Regions from separate parts of the Homo sapiens genome. Here region 1 is linked to region 2. The links are contacts of gene promoters, found by promoter capture Hi-C in blood cells and fetal thymus (Javierre and others, 2016). All regions are on one chromosome and are shown on one strand. The core of a region is centred on a gene start or on the middle of the fragment in contact, and the rest is flanking DNA. Distances in the headings are between cores, read along the strand shown. Region 1 overlaps NUP133 (nucleoporin 133). Region 2 holds the start of SDE2 (spliceosome associated SDE2).

Region 1 (4,602 bases), core at 562-3,061, 3.5 Mb before region 2:
GCAGCCTTAATATCTGCTGAAGTCATTTTTATTAAGGCTTGAATTCTAGATCTTTGTGATTTTTCTGGAACAGTATTTTTCAAATTGTAGGGGTGACCAAAATTTAGCGGTTCTTGACCAGCATTTAAAAAAAGAAGAAATAGAATGCATCTCATATGTTTAGTAAATTTTGTTCGTTTTACTTAAATTGTATATGGGTGTATCGTGATGTAAAATGTATTATACTGTGAATAACTCTATTTACTGTATAACTTAATAACAGTAAAAAAAAAATGCTGAAATTACTCTGTTTTAGAAGAAGGAATATATCTCATCAACTGGAACTTGGCACATCTTGCCTGTAGGTCCTTGGGAGCTTTAGGGATAGTTGTTTTCAGACAACTACTAACCTTTCTATACATTGTTCTGTTTTAAATAAATAAATGTATATATATATATTGGTATATATGTGTATATTTTTCCCCTCTAAAAATTTCAGTTTACATTTAAACCTTTTAATGTACTACTCATATTTTAACAGACTAGATTAAATAACACAGCCCCAAATCTAGAAATTCAGAGAGTCCTTAGAAATTAGGATATATAAAACAAAGAGGTGTGTCAACTTGAAGAACTCTTCCCCACTTAGAAACCTGCCAACTACTGTTAAGTCAGCCCTTAAAGGCACACCGGTCGAGGATCTGGAGTTGTAGTGCTTTCAAGAAAAAGAAAATTACTGAGCAGATAGTTCAGTTGAGCAAAAAGCCTCACTCAGCCTGGGCTTGGTTTGATATTTTTGCTTGTACATTGTCTATGCCTTTTACTTCACCCTTCTACCTTTCTGTAAGTAAAGAGCAAAGCTCAACTTAATAAAATTTCCAGGGCTGTTAACACATTTGTGGAGGTTTACCACCAATACTTAAGATATGTGCTAATTTAGTTTTGTCACTTAATAGAGAACGTAACTCTTTGTCTCCATGTACTAAATAATTTATCATTCCTTTAAGGAGCTCTTATTTGAAAATTATGTGCTTTTGGTCCTCCAAAAGCACATTGTTTTCCTTGAAATGTTTTATATAGTTAATGAGTTTGTTATTTGTTTTACTTTATCGATATAATTATAAATGTTGCTAAATATTTCTTTTTTGTTTGTTTGTTTTGAGACAGAGTCTTGCTCTGTTGCCCAGGCTGGAGTGCAGTGGCGCGATCTCAGCTCAATGCAACCTCTGCCTCCCAGGTTCAAGTAATTCTCCTGCCTCAGCCTCCCGAGTAGCTAGGATTACAGGTGCACGCCACCATGCCCCCATGCCTGGCTAATTTTTTTTTCTATTTTTGGTAGAGATGGGGTTTCATCATGTTGGCCAGGCTGGTCTCGAACTCCTGACCTCATGATCCACCCACCTCGGCCTCCCAAAGTGCTGGGATTACAGGCGTGAGCCACCCTGCCTGGCCTCTCTTTTGTTGTTTCTGCTTACTTATTTTTTGATATGGAGTCTTGCTCTCTTGACCAGGTGGGAGTGATGTGATCATGGTTTACTGCAGCTTCAATCTCCTGGGCTCAAGTGGTTCTCCTGTGCCTCAGTCACCCTAGTAGCTGGGAAGTGCACTGCCAAGCCTGGCTATTTTTTTTTTTTTTTTTTAAGAGAGAGAGTCTCACTATGTTGCCCAGGCTGGCCTCAAGCAGTCCTCCCAGGGTGGCCTCCCAAAATATTGGGATTTATAAGCATGAGCCACTGTGCCTGGCCTAAATATGTCTTATAGGAAATAAGCTATCTGGTCTGTTTGTAACAAAAAATTAAGGAATATTAAATGTCCCAAATACACTTTTTGCCTTTAGATATATTTCTTTTTTCTTTCTTTTTTTTTTTTTTTTTTTTTTGAGATGGAGTCTGGCTCTGTTGCCCATGCTGGAGTGCAGTGGCACGATCTCGGCTCACTGGAACCTCCACCTCCCAGGTTCAAGCGATTCTCTTGCCTCAGCCTCCCAAGTAGCTGGGACTACAGGCACGTGCCACCACACTCAGCTAATTTTTTGTAGTTTTAGTAGAGTTGGAGTTTCACCATGTTAGCCAGGATGGTCTCGATCTCCTGACCTCGTGATCCTCCCACCTCGGCCTCCCAAAGTGCTGGGATTACAGGCGTTAGATATATTTCTAAAGTTGGTTATCAGAGTTAATAGATCTATTGTTTTTGGTGTTGATAATTTTGGAATATTCAAAAGTATTTGTTGTGAGGTAGTCGTTTCTGAGTGTGCCAATTACTTTTTTTTGATAAAGCGTGTGGTAATAAAGATTTATACTATAAGATTAATCACCCACCTCATTTTTTCCTTTAGTCGATGACCAGCTGACCATTAACATAGATGAAGGTGGATGGGCTTGTCTGGTGTGCAAAGAGAAGCTCATTATTTGGAAGATTGCTCTGTCACCTATTACTAAGGTAATGGCTCTTTAGAGAGCTGGAACAAGATAGAGGAGAGGAATGCCAATTGACTTTTCATTTTTACCCTAATTTTTTTACAGTTGGAGGATAGTCAATAGGAAACTACTTAGGCATTAAGAGTTTGCATTTTCATAGTGATGTGAAATAATGAGCATGCATACACATTTGTGTATTGGGAAAAAAGTTTCCCCCTTTTGAAGATCTGTGTTGTTTACATTTAATAAAATTAGAGTCATTGATATTTCCAATGAATATAATGCTAATCCGTCTGCCTAATGAAGTATCAGACTAAATGCTATCCACATAAGCAAATGAACTTTGAGTTTGCGTATTTCTGAGAAGACAGAACTATGTTTTGTTGAACCTACTGAATGATGCTTAATAAAATAAGAAAATATGATACCAGTTGCTAGTTAAACTTTTCACTTGTCCACTTCCAACAGTGGGTTATCATTTGCATGTCTAGTAACGTATCCTCAGCAACCTTTTTCTGTTTGTTACAGCTTAGATACACTACTCTCTTCTACCAGTCATTACTTCCTTGGCCATGTTCCGTTGGAACTCAGGGCTCCTGCTTACCTCAATTCTTCACTTCTGCTGAACTCTGTGTTACTGCTGCCTAGAAAAGGGTGTATGTGGTTAGGAGTAATAGGTGAGGGTGAATTCCTGGGGGACATACTGAGTTAGCTGCGGGATCCTGATATTTGGCTGAGAGTCTAAGAAATTGTTTCCTAGGTAACTTGGTATAATTACTCTTTGGTCATGCTAATTTTAAATGTCAGATGAACAAATCAAGAGTAAATTGGGAAAGTTCCATAGGAAGCCTAAGCACTCATCTTAACCTTACTTAGTCTTCTCTTAACTGGACTTTTCTAGCCCAGGAAGAGGTTAGGATAGTTGTTCTTCAGAGTTTGGTCTACCTTTAAGTTTTCATGATTCAATACTCTTAAGATACTTTGTTTTAAAATTACTGAAAGCCTGATTAAAAGGAGATGTGAGAAGAAAGAATATTTGTAGAATGGTGTTTCCAGCAGTGAGTCAGAATCTAAAATATGCAGAGAAGGGAAATCAGATGCATCTTCAAAATACTGGATTTGATGTGAAAGATTTTCTGTTTGGGTTTGTTCTACAGTTATCCGTTTGCAAAGAACTTCAGCTGCCACCTAGTGATTTCCACTGGAGTGCCGACTTAGTGGCTCTTTCTTACTCTTCTCCCTCAGGTGAAGCACATTCTACTCAGGTAGGTGACTTAAAAGCTTATTTAAATAAACTTTTTACAACAAGGACATCCTAAAGTTAGAGGAATCATCCTCTTTGATTTTGAGATATAACTATAAACCTATAGAAATCAAGATATTGTGGTATTGGCAAAGAGAGCTACACACATAGGTCAGTGTAACAGAATAGAGAATACAGTTATAGATCCACATAAAGGCACCCATTTGGTCTTTGATGAAGGTGCAAAAGCAATTCAGAAAGGATGGTTTTTGACGATGATTTTTCTCTGTATCAATGCATAGTGTAGGAACATTTGTAATTTTAAAATTACAAATGACCAATTTGTATTGTATTGTATTGAATTTTCCCTTAAACCTCATACCTTGTTACAAAGATTAATTTGAAATGGGTCATAGATCTAAATGTAAAACAGTAAAACTTTTAGAAGAAAACAGAAGAAAATCATCATGACCTGAGATTAGACAGAGTTCTTGGAAATCACCAAAAGCATGATCCATAAAAGAAAAGTTTGATAAAATTAATAATAAAATTAAAATAAAATAAAAATTTAAAGCGTTGCTTTGCCAAAGACAAGAAAATGAAGAGACAAGTTACAGAGTAAGAAGAATTTGCAAATCATGTATCCAGCAAAGGACTTGTATCCAGAATATTTTTTAAAATTCTAAACTTGATAAGAAAACAATGCAGTTTAAAAACAGGGGCTAGGACTTGAACAGACACTTAGTGAGGATATAAGGATGGCACATAAGCACATGAAGAGATGTTCAGCATCATTAGCCATTAGAAAAATGCAAACCAAAACACTGGTGAGTTCTTATTTCTGATTTTTCTTGATCAAATAGTAAATTGTCCTGTTTCTTTGTATCATTGCCATCAGACTGCTGGTTTTTGGGTTCCTCTTTTATTGTGATTGCTGATTGTTGTGATCTTGTTTTGAGGCTG
Region 2 (4,822 bases), core at 1,099-3,598:
TATTCAATACTTGGGATTCTTTAAATAATAGGAATTTAAATGCAACAGAGGGATAAAAAGCGAAAAATTCCATTCAGACATCAGGTTTTATGAGGACTAAATATAATGTTAGTAATAAATGATGTGGAGTTTCCTTACTGGAAAGTACTACTTATGCCAGGCACGGCAGGTCACGCCTGTAATCCCAGCACTTTGGGAGGCTGAGGCGGGAGGATCTTTTGAGCCCAAGAGTTCAAGACCAGCCTGGGCAACTTAGCGAAAAACTCGTCTTTACAAAAAATTTAAAAATTAGCCAGGTGTGGTGGCATGCACCTGTAATCCATCTGGAGTCTGTGGCAGATCACTTGAGCCCAGGAGTTCAAGGCTGCGTGTGCTATGATTGCGCCACTACACTCCAGCCCAGGTGGCAGAGCGAGTGTCTCAAAAAAGAAAGAAAGAAAGAAAAAAAAGACTAATCATAATAATTCCTCACAAGACACGAAGCATTATCCCGACACAAAAAATGTTTTGGAAACCCAAACTGACCTTTATACAGTTACTTGTAGGATCTCAGACCTTTGAAATGGTCATTTAAAAAAATTATTTATTTATTTGAAATAGTCATTTTTGATCACCAGAAGGAAGAAATCACAAATAAAAAAAGAAGAGGCTTAAGGCTCAGATCTGTAGATTACTTTTTCAGGAACCTGGAGGACAGAGAGCTGGGGAGCAGACTGCAGAGGGACTTGAGGTTTCTGGAGTTTGGACGGCTTACATGTAACCTGGCGACACCTTCACGCCCCAGGGTTGCCATGGCACCACCTTTCCGAAATACTGCTTCCTAGGTACAATATATCTTTTTTTTCTGAAACGGAGACTCTCTCTGTCGCCCAGGCTGGAGTGCGATGGCACGATCTCAGCTCACTGCAACCTCTGCCTCCCGGGTTCAAGCGATTCTCCTGCCTCAGCCTCCTGAATAGCTGGGATTACAGACGCGCACCACCACGCCCGGCTAATTATTGTATTTTTAGTAGAGATGGGGTTTCACCATGTTGGTGAGGCTGGTTTCGAACTCCTGACCTCGAGATCCGCCCGCCTCAGTCTCCCAAAGTGCTGGATTACAGGCATGAGCCACCGCGCCCGGCCAGTACAATCTATCTTTATTATTTTTTTTTTTGTAATTTTTATTTATCTACTGGCATCCCCATGGAGGCCCTTTCTCTCCCCAACTTTCCCTCGTGTGTGAAATAAAGACCACTGAATCTATTAACTTCCCAGGCCTTGAAATTCCATTTTCGCACATACTGCCACCGCTAAACGATTTCTGAATTTTTTGTTGTTACCCCCTCAGCTAGGAGTTCCATTTGCCAAGCATTTTAACAGCAGAGAAGGCAATTCTGTGGGCCGATGCATTTGTGTTTAGCAGGCACAGATATCTCCAAATAACCTTCCTATCTTCACACTGGTGGCTTTTGAATTGTTCAGGGTTTTAGAAATACCATAATCTCATTCTGTTAAATATTAAGGGACTCTTTCGGATTCCCTGAGCCTTAAGGTTACGTTATGCAAATCTGTCCGAGTGTGTTTCCATGGTGCAGAATAAAAGTTATGGTAGGGTTTTTTGAAGCAGCATGACTATAAACGTCACTCCTGTCACTGCCTTTCACAAGAGCCCACTTGCTGTGAAATATTTTGAAAACAGAGCTGAAGTGGAGATAACGCAGTGCACAAACAGGCGGAAATAAGAATAAACCGTGCGTGGCAGGCAGAAACCCGGAGGTTGGCTGTTTCTGGAGGGGAAGAGAAGGCTCTGTAAAGCTGGAGGAGAAACCACGCCGGCCACTGTTTAGGGGCCTCCTGGGGGTCGTTTCCCTTGCCCCCTCGGGTTGGGGAGCTCCTCTAGGCCAAGGAAGCGGCCCCCTAAAACCGCTTCCGGGACTGCAGCTTCTCTCCCCACACTCTCAAGGAGCAGAGCCTTCTCGGGCCACAATTCTCCGCGACCCAAAAATAACTACACAGATGTGAGGAAAAGGGCCAAAGCCTACAGCACAAGGTGGTTCTCAGTTAAAGCCTTATCGCTTACGGCCAGGAAGCTCGAAACCTAACCCAGCGCCAGCCTTTTATAGCCGGTCCCTCGAGCCCCGCCCTAGCAACTTCTCCTAGCAACGCCTCGCCCCGTGCTCTGCCGCCTTATCTGCCTCCGCCAGGCCTTTCCTGTTCCCCTCCCCCAGCCCGCACCGCCCCGCCGCCCGGCTCACTTGACCCGCCCCAGGGGAGGGGAGGGGTGAACGGAAGCGTGAGGGGCGGGGCGTTGGAAGATGCTCGCGTCATCAAGAGGCGCCGGGCGAGTTGCGGCGCCTGGTGTCTCAGAGAGGCTTGAGGTTCGGGTAGTCGGTGACATGGCGGAGGCCGCGGCGCTGGTGTGGATTCGCGGCCCTGGCTTCGGGTGCAAGGCGGTGCGGTGTGCCTCGGGTCGGTGCACCGTCCGGGATTTTATCCACCGGCACTGCCAAGATCAGGTGAGGATTTCGGTTCCTGTTAGGAAGGAGAAAGAGGCAGACAGGTGGCAGCGCTGGGTGCGGAGTAGGTCTGTCCGGGGCGGGGGTACGTTTATTCTCTGGGGTTTTCACTCGTTGAGGCTGAGAGTTCCTCAGTGTTAAGGTGCTTCGAATTGTTACTGAGACCTTCCTTTGCTTTTCTTTTGTGGTGGTGGTTTTGCCTTCCCACCAAGAGGGAGAAAAAAACTGTTACAGGCACTTAGTCCCGCTCACAGTTACAAATACTTTGTTTCTCTTTCTTTATCCGTAAATATAATGGTCTTCTGGCAGTTGGGCCGGCTGATTTTTAAGGCTCCAGTCTTCACCTTCTTACTATGGTTATGTGACGTGTATTTTGTCCACTCATCACACAGCCTTGTTAGCCCCAGCCTAGAGAAGTATGTCATATCCAAACCCAGGCCAAAGGATGATTGGGAAGGAAAATTGATTCTTCTGGTCAGTCGTTGTGACCAAGCATTCACACGTGTGTCCTGTTGAGGGCCTGGGTTCTTAGGGCCTGTTACGTAGAAGTGTTCACTATTAATTTGATGGTCTCATTTGTCCGTGCATATTTGTGAAAACCTACCAGGGACTTCCAGAGTTACACGTGAGCTTTTACTGAACTTTCAAGTAAGTAAGCTTTTACCAGCTATAAGATATTAAACCTGTTCAGTTGTCAAAAGAATTTAGTGGTTTCCCTGAATCTAATTTTAATGTTGGCACTTGATCTAGAACTCTGTTCTTTCCGCACCTCATCCGTGCTTTCCTCGGCTATTTCCTCTGCTTACTATTTATAAGCTTAACAAATGTTAACACTGCAGTCTAGACCAAAATTTTAAGAGACTTGGATCGATTCCGTGAAGAAGCAATGTGTGTTTGCAAATAATACGGTTTTTCACTTTCCATGTTTTCCTTCCTGCTCTGTAATCCAGTCTAAAAACTGTAAGCACAACTGTTTTTGACCATGAAAATAATTGCATTCTAATTCCTTTGAAAATAATTCTTATTTCATGAGTACAGTGTTCTTTTCTCCCCCTCCCCCACCCCCGACGGAGTTTGACTCCCGTTGCCCGGGCTGGAGTGCAATGGCGTGATCTCGGCCCACTGCAACCTCCGCCTCGCTGAGTTCAAGCGGTTCTCCTGCCTCAGCCTCCCAAATAGCTGGGATTGCAGTCGCCCGCCACCATGCCTGGCTAATTTTTGTATTTTTAGTAGAGACGGGGTTTCACCACGTTGGCCAGGTCTTGAACTCCTGACCTCGGGTGATCCGCCCACCTCAGCCTCACAAAGTGCTGGGATTACAGGCTTGAGCCACTCCTCCCGGCCTATGAGTACAGTTTTCAAACTTGCTGACAATTGATCCAAAGTGAAACCAGAAAAAATAGGATCTTAATCATGAGGTATGTTGGAAAAAAGAATTTTTAAATCGGAAGCAAGAAATATAGGCCAGGCGTGGTGGCTCACGCCTGTAATTCCAACACTTAGGGAGGTCGAGGCGGGCAGATCACCTGAGGTCAGAAGTTCGAGACCAGCTTGGCAACATGGTGAAACCCCATCTCTCCTAAAAATACACAAAAATTAGCCAGGCGTGGCGGCAGACGCCTGTAATCCCAGCTACCCAGGAGGCTGAAGCAGAAGAATCATTTGAACCTGAGAGGTGGAGGTTGCAGTGAGCCGAGATTGAGCCATTGCACTCCAAACTGGGTGACAGAGCAAGACTCGGTCTGAAAAAGTATATATAAAGAAATATAAATGAGTGGATTCAGTCAGAAACTTAAGGAACATGACCATAGCAAATATGAATAGAAACACAAAAGAATATTAGTTGAGATACTGGAACAAGTAAGAATAGCTCAAGTTCACACCTATGTTTTTAAAAACAAAACTATTCTGAGACATGATGAAGTTAGTGTTAACTCCCACTGAGAAAATAAAAATCTGCCCTGCTTTTCATCAGGCTGGGATAACAGACACAGATAAAGCCAGCTGCAAAGTTTTTGTTTTTTGTTTTTGTTTCCCCCACACTACACCGATGTACAGCTGCAGAGTTAACAGGAAATGGTGATGTGTCATAATGTCATAACGACCCCCACGAAGGTCTGCTGCTTTCTTATTCACTGAGAAACCTTGGTCTCAAAAACCATAGAATATATAAGAAATTTTGCTGTTTAAAGTTCTCTCAATAAGAGGGAACCTTCCCACTCTTGCCTTGTAGAGAAGCATTCTTGATTTCCAACCCAGGTCAGAGCTTCCCATTAAGGGTTTCTGGACACAACTTTCCACATTTATCTTAAATTTGTAGTTTC

Evidence for each region. The method cuts DNA at HindIII sites, captures the fragments that hold promoters and counts their contacts. A CHiCAGO score of 5 or more calls a contact.
Region 1: a fragment that was not itself captured here is called in contact with the fragment with the promoter of SDE2 in region 2 in 1 of 17 cell types (neutrophils); the score reaches 6.4 in neutrophils.

Annotation. Positions count from the first base shown.
Region 1 is chr1:229,499,815-229,504,416 of GRCh38, reverse strand. It overlaps NUP133 (nucleoporin 133), which reads left to right. Exons shown (of 26, transcript NM_018230.3): 3 at 2,315-2,418; 4 at 3,554-3,661; 5 at 4,599-4,602. Among named protein-coding and RNA genes, the nearest start is that of NUP133, 6.2 kb to the left of the region's middle. The HindIII fragment of the contact is 3,736 bases long and covers 1-3,679 here.
Region 2 is chr1:225,996,869-226,001,690 of GRCh38, reverse strand. It overlaps SDE2 (spliceosome associated SDE2), which reads left to right and starts at 2,348. Exons shown (of 7, transcript NM_152608.4): 1 at 2,348-2,498. The coding sequence starts at 2,379. RefSeq lists enhancers at 1,464-1,513, 1,594-1,693, 1,714-1,863, 2,384-2,493, 4,507-4,596 and 1 more and a silencer at 2,044-2,323. The HindIII fragment of the contact is 16,010 bases long and covers 1-3,157 here.